2 separate regions of the Homo sapiens genome follow, and region 1 is linked to region 2. Evidence: promoter capture Hi-C in human tissues and cell types (Jung and others, 2019). All regions are on one chromosome and are shown on one strand. Each heading gives the region's core, a stretch centred on a gene start or on the middle of the fragment in contact. The rest is flanking DNA. Distances are from core to core; before and after follow the strand shown.

The links. The method cuts DNA at HindIII sites, captures the fragments that hold promoters and counts their contacts. A contact is called where the count stands out against the background at its distance.
Region 1: a fragment that was not itself captured here is called in contact with the fragment with the promoter of LRGUK in region 2 in 3 of the 25 tissues and cell types used here (H1 embryonic stem cells, dorsolateral prefrontal cortex and hippocampus).

What each region holds. Positions count from the first base shown.
Region 1 is chr7:134,017,502-134,021,544 of GRCh38, forward strand. The region is part of intron 17 of EXOC4 (exocyst complex component 4); the gene reads left to right. Among named protein-coding and RNA genes, the nearest start is that of LRGUK, 110 kb to the right of the region's middle. The HindIII fragment of the contact is 3,677 bases long and covers 1-3,376 here.
Region 2 is chr7:134,126,021-134,128,589 of GRCh38, forward strand. It overlaps LRGUK (leucine rich repeats and guanylate kinase domain containing), which reads left to right and starts at 1,320. Exons shown (of 20, transcript NM_144648.3): 1 at 1,320-1,644. The coding sequence starts at 1,348. RefSeq lists enhancers at 1,173-1,222, 1,333-1,602. The HindIII fragment of the contact is 8,230 bases long and covers 1-2,569 here.

The DNA of each region.
Region 1 (4,043 bases), core at 288-2,787, 110 kb before region 2:
AATAGATTTAAATAATATTACATCTCTCCAATTAAACCTTCATTTGACCTTGCTGTCCCGTTTCTGACCATGCCGCTTTTTTCTGATCTCCCTTTTTTTACATTTACATTAGGTCCCGTGCATTGTAACAATTAATTGATCTCTAATTAATCATTTAATTAGGACTCCTTGAATGCGGGTGAGCATGCCTTACTGGTCTGCATATCCTTCACAGAGCACTTCAGAGCAATAAATACTTCTAAGCCTCTCAAAAAAATCTCTCAGTAACTGACGTTTGATTCCCCATAAACATATCTCATGTGTGAGGCTTTGATTAAGTAAGATTTCTTTTGATTATGCTCAATTAGTGTCACCATATTTTGTATATATATATTGTCAATGTATAATTTAGGGTTCCTCGAGATTACTGGCAGACAGTGACACTCTTCCCTTTGTAGCACATGTGCTGGAATTGGAATGATTCAGAGATTAGCATAGATAGCGAGTATTATTATTATCCAGTAAAGATCCCAAGGAACAGAAATAAGAAGTGACTTGTCCAGAATCTGTCATCGAATCCTGCTGTTTATATATTCTGCAGTACCTTTGTATTCATCATAGTTAGTTAATTAACCCACCCAGGGAGGCTATTTTTCTGCCAGGGAAGGGTTGCATTGTACTGAAAAGATATTAAGCTTGTTCTGTGACTGAAGCCCAAGAATGATCATTTACCGACTCTATTAGAATTCTCACTGAAAAATTTGAGGCTGGAAGCTGACCTTTCTTGTTTTCTAAATAAAGATGTAGTGTTTAAATTTTGATGCTTGAAAGTAGGAAACTGGCACAATCGCTGTCGTAAAAGCAGAGCTACAGCCCCTGTAAACCACATCATGCCAGACTTCCCATCCTGCCCCTCCCTTTACCTGCTTTATCATATACAGGAAGAAAGCCCTTCTCTTCATTCCCACCTCCTGCTTTACTGAACACCCTTTGCTGATCCAAACAGAAAAAGATCAGAGTACTGAAGGAAGGTCACATGGCCACAGTGAATTCTGTGGCCAGCACTCCGCTCAAGGACCTTTTGTTCTCTGAAACCTTCTCCAATGTGCCTGGCCCATATCACTTGCTCTTTTTATAATCCTTTTTTTTTAATTTTCTGTACTCTAAAATTAATACCTCATTATGTGCTATATTGTTCTTCATTTGTTCCCATCTTTTAATATTTTATTCATCTAATTTTTATTAACATGTTCTCTCTCTACTGAATTATAAAGTTCTTGTGACTAGTTACCATGATTGTATTTTGTTTATTTGGTTTCTGGGTGGTTTTCCCCCTTTTACTTCTCTGTAATAGACTACCTGTCAGCAATCTGAAGTATTTATGAAAATAATATGGGTTTTAAAATATGTTTGATATGTATTACTTTCGATGTATGTTTGTTTTTGTTTTTTGTTTGTTTGTTTTTTTGAGACTGACTCTTGCTCTGTCACCCAGGCTGAAGTGCAGTGGCCTGATCTTGCCTCATGCAACCTCCGCCTCCCAGGTTCAAGCGATTCTCCTGCCTCAGCCTCCTGAGTAGCTGGGATTAAAGGCACGCGCCACTACACCCGGCTAATTTTTGTATTTTTAGTAGAGATGGGGTTTCACCATGTTAGCCAGGATGGTCTCGATCTCCTGACCTCAAGTGATCTGCCTGCCTCAGCCTCCCAAAGTGCTGGGATTACAGGCATGAGGCACAGCGCCCAGCCACGATGTATGTTTTAGAGAGCATCTGTAGCTAAATACAAATAGGTTACCAAGAAATAGTTTTTGTACCTAGCTTTACAGACCTTTAACTTTAAACTACTTTCTCTAAAACAAGGAAAGCTCCTGCAAGACATGTGATTTTTTTTTACAAACCATCCTAGAGGCCTATATTGGTGACTTTCTCTCAGTGATGATGATGATGATGATGATGATGATGATGACATATTCCAAGTATAATATGAGTAATTATAATTACTGTTATATAATGATCTCAGCACATGACATGAACGTTAGTAAATGCTTTACCTACATTGGTTCACTGAATGTCCCTGAAACTCTATATTTAGCTATTGCTGCAAAAAGATGAGAAAACTAAAGCTTAACGAAGTTAAGTAAATTCCTAGTTTACATAAGAAGAGAGGCCAGATTCAAACTTAGGTCAATCCAACCCCAAAGTCTATGTATGCTCTTAACTACGTGAAGTAAGGCTACCATTTTGGTCAATGTTGGGTCTCTCTTTTGCTTATATTAAAATATGATTTTATTTTTCAGTTATTCTCTTAGCTATCAAACATTTCTTTTTTCCTTTATTTTCTCTGGTTGGGTGTCTTTCCCCCTTGATTTCCACTGAGCTCTGATTGCTAACTGTTTTAATCAGCTTTAATGGGCAGTTTGACGGCAGAGGGGTCTGCAGACTCTTCCTACCTTGGTGGTGTTATGGGGTTGGTTTTGCTCAGCTGTCAGGTGTTCATGCTGCTTGTGGGTCTTCTGCTGGCCTTCCAAACAACTGTCCTTGGGGAGCAACACTTAGACCCGAGACCACTCTCTCAGAATCTCACCACAAATTAGCACGTCATCAACAGCACTGAGCAGCACCATCATTAATCCAAATGCATACACCTGTGCTTTTAAGACAATAAGCAGCTAAACCAAGTGCTTCCCAAAGACTAGAAGGTATAAGAATTTCCCTATCAGCTACAGGGTCTCTTGCAGGGAAATTGTTTTAAGTGGAAACTCTTTGACTCCATCCCTAAAAGTTCTGATTTAGAAGGCTGAGGGTAGGGCTTGGGCATCTGCGGCTTAACAAGTGCTCAGGAGATTATCATGCAGAAATACCGGCCCTGACCTCGTTTTCTTTGAGATTCATGCAATATCCAGGCCATCGTCTTTCAACCTCATGTTTCTCCTTTAGTCCCCTTTACTCTTATCTCCTACTGCAGGCAGCAAAAGTAAAAATAACTTGAAAGCACTTTTCTAGATTATTTTAAATTATTAAAATGACACACAAGGTGGTCACCATTATTACTCTCAGTTAACATGTGTAGACATTGAGGCAGAGTCGGGTTGTATTCTTGGAAATTTGGGAGTAAACTAAATAGCATTTCATTCACCTAGTAGTTGGCTAATAAATCAACCTTTAATTGTTGCATGAATTTGAGTAAGTCACTTCAGCTCTCTTGGCTGAAGTTTCCTCATCTATAAAATGAAGGGTTTGTGCCTGAAATGGCAGCACTTTGGGAGGCTGAGGCAGGTGGATCACTTGAGGTCAGGAGTCTGAGACCAGCCTGGCCAACATGGTAAAACCCCGTCTCTTCTAAAACTACAAAAATTAGCCAGGCACGGTGGCAGGTGCCTGTAGTCCCAGCTACTTGGGAGGCTGAAGCAGGAGAATGGCGTGAACCCAGGAGGCAGAGCTTGCAGTGAGCCGAGATTGCACCACTGCACTCCAGCCTGGGCGACAGAGCAAGACTGTCTCAAAAAAAAAAAAAATATGAAGGGTTTGATTAGAGGATCAACTATAGGGTCTCTTGCAGATTGGACTTGCCTAGAGTTCCATGACATAAAGCCAGAGAGCGGTTTGAGAGATCTAGAGCCCTGCCTCAACTCCTAGCTCTCAAAAGAGACTATCACAGGAAAGCTATCTAAGAGGAAACAAATTAGCTCCCATCCAATTCCATAAAGATACTGTAAACATGTCTGAGATATGCAGTATATAACAGGCATTTTAATATTTGTTGATTGGACAAACTAATGCCTGTGTGTATGGATGAATTAATGAGGAAGGAAGTACTGTAGGCCTGTTTCTTTTCATAGTCAAGATCGTGCTTAAAGCATTTGCTCACCACACGTACAGGAGAGTAAAACAGATCTAGACGCTGGCTACTGCTTTTGCATGACCTATAAAGGTCTTATAAGGCTCTGAACAGTAATTCAAAATGTAAACGTGTAGGTACTCAAAAACATAAATGTCACATCTGCTTTAGCTCTTCATCTCCATTGCTGTGCTGTAGTTTTCCAATTGATGGAAAGGTTTTAT
Region 2 (2,569 bases), core at 70-2,569:
AAAACGATCGAGATTTGCATTTTTACACTTTCTGCCTGATTCTTCCCTATGTCACTTAGCCGAAGCCAGGCCCTACGAGGGTAAGGGTGGGGAAAATTCCCTTGGAGGAATCTCTACTTATTGGAAAAAGAAATAAGCAAAAAGCAAGATGAGCCTGGCAGAAAGAGATATTTTGCTTGTGGCCTTTACATTTATGACTAGCAAGATAATGAAGGAAGGTAATTCTGAAAGCTTTATGTCAGTTTTAACGGTCCCTCAAGCACTGAGAAAGATAATCGTCAATGGATGGTGTCCATAAGGATTTTTTCTCCTTCTCCCCTGACAGCCATTGACAGGATCATTTTGTATTTGCAACTGCTGTCATTGAAGCGTGCAGAAAAGGCCCTGTAAGGCCAGAAGGATGAGGGCTACTTCCCTGCAAGGATCTCTATTGTCATCACTATGGCAATAATAGTTACTATAATTTTCATTCTGCTTTTCTATAGAGTGTCGACGTTGTGGAGCTTAAGGCTATGGGATTTGGGTCACATAAAATCACACTAGCATAAAATCGTGCTTTGTTATCTTGAAAGAGTATTTTTTTTAACTGCAAAGAGAGCCTGTGCAACAAGATTAAAATAATTGCCAATGCAGGTCACTTGACTAATATAATTATTTATGGGATGCTAATAGCTTTTCAGACGCTTTCAGATACAGTGTCAATTTGACAGCAGTTTTTTCTCTCTCTGTTTGGATTGTAAGACCACTGCCAGTTTTTCTCCCCAAGGACAAGGCTTATCATTGGGGGGTGGGGGTGGGGAATGTAAATTAATTGGAAATCAGCTCTCAGGCGTCGTCTGGTAGTTTCTCTTTATTATCTGCAATTAAATCATAAGGACAGGAACCATGCCTTCTATTTCACTTATATGCACCCTCATCTCCTAGCGTCGCGCTTTGCATAAATTTCAGTGGTACTAGCTTTCCTACAGACTGCTTTAGAGACATTAGACACTTCTAAAGTACGACTCTGCGGAAAGAGCCCTTTGGGAATGAAGCGGCAACGGTGGCGCACCTGCGATCCTATCGTGGGATGACAAAGCTCTAAGAGGGGTCTCAGGGTAGGGAGGAAACAGCTGGAGACAAAGAAAGGGGGTGTAGCGAAAAGAGGTGAAAACAGGAAAGATAAGCGAACAGAACAGACCAAAGAGAGAAAAATAACAGAAGAGACTGAGAAAAAGAAAAGTCAAGTGGAGCGCCCACTGCCCCGCCTGCAGAAGGCGAGTACGCGCGGAGGAGACTACAGGCCCCAGAATCCTCCGCGGTTCCCCTTGCCTGGGGTCAGTCTCCTAGGCAACCCCGCTAAACAAGATGGCGACCTCCGAGAGGGCTCTCCTGAGGACCAGAGCTGCCTCTCTCCTGAGAGGCTTGGGCAGATCCCGAACTGGAGCCCGATCGTTACAGTTTCGCGCAGAAAAAGAGCGTCAGCCTTGCTGGTCTTTTCCCATGGGGCAGAAGACGAAAGGCAGCTCTAACATAGCCTCCTCCTACCTGCTCCAGCAGCTCATGCACCGCTATCAGGAGCTGGACTCGGACGGAGATGAGGACCAGGGCGAGGGCGAGGCGGGATCCGAGGAGTCCTCAGAGTCCGAAATGCTGAATTTGGAGGTGTGTCTTCCCCCCCACCCCGTACTCCCTGGCTCCCTCGTCCAGCCCTGTTACTTCAGCGGCAGCTCCCCGATGCACCCCCACCAGCCCGAAGCTTCCCACACCTTCTCAGGCTCTCTCGCCTCCAGGAACGCCTCTTCCCCCTCTTTTCTTCCCCTGTCTTTTACCCCGTTTTCTCACCCCCTGCCTGAAATAGCTCTAAATAGTTCCTTTCTTTTTTCATTAACACATTTGATTTCTTATGAGTCGAGTTAACACAGCGTCACTTTGTAAGAGTGTCTAGATAATTGTCTGGGAATTATGGCTTTAGCTTTTTCAAAATTATACTTTGACAGTATTGTGAATAGGCAGAGTTCATCTCTGACATTGCCAGCACCTGTTGCCCATGGCTATGACATACTTCCACACTCTTCCTCAGTTCTAGTCCCGTCAGCCTCCCTCCAGGAAAAAAAAAAAAAAAAAAATCCGCTTTTGAAAGTGCTTCTTCAAAGACTAAGTGACTTAAAAGTTGAATACATTACTTCTGTCGGGGGCATATGCCTTATACAAGCAACATGCACACACACCAGAAAAGAGCCTTATAATGTTCGAACAGCCAGCTCATTGTGGGAATATTTTAGGATGTGGGGAATGTTCCCATCATCCCACCCATATTGACTGGGATGGCGGCTTCGCGTTTCACATGACTGCCATTCCCTCCTTTCTACAATATCTCTTCTGACCACCACACAATTCCTCTTCTTTCTTATGCTTATTATGGTCCTTTTCCTTTCTTAGTCCATTGTTGTCTTCTTGTCCTTTTCCACTTCTCATCACATCACTTCTTTTCTCTTGGCTTCTAATAAATTGCTTTCTTTCAAAAGCGTAATTTAATTTGCTTCCTTTCTATTTTGTTTATGTTTTTGAGATGGAGTCTGGCTTTGTC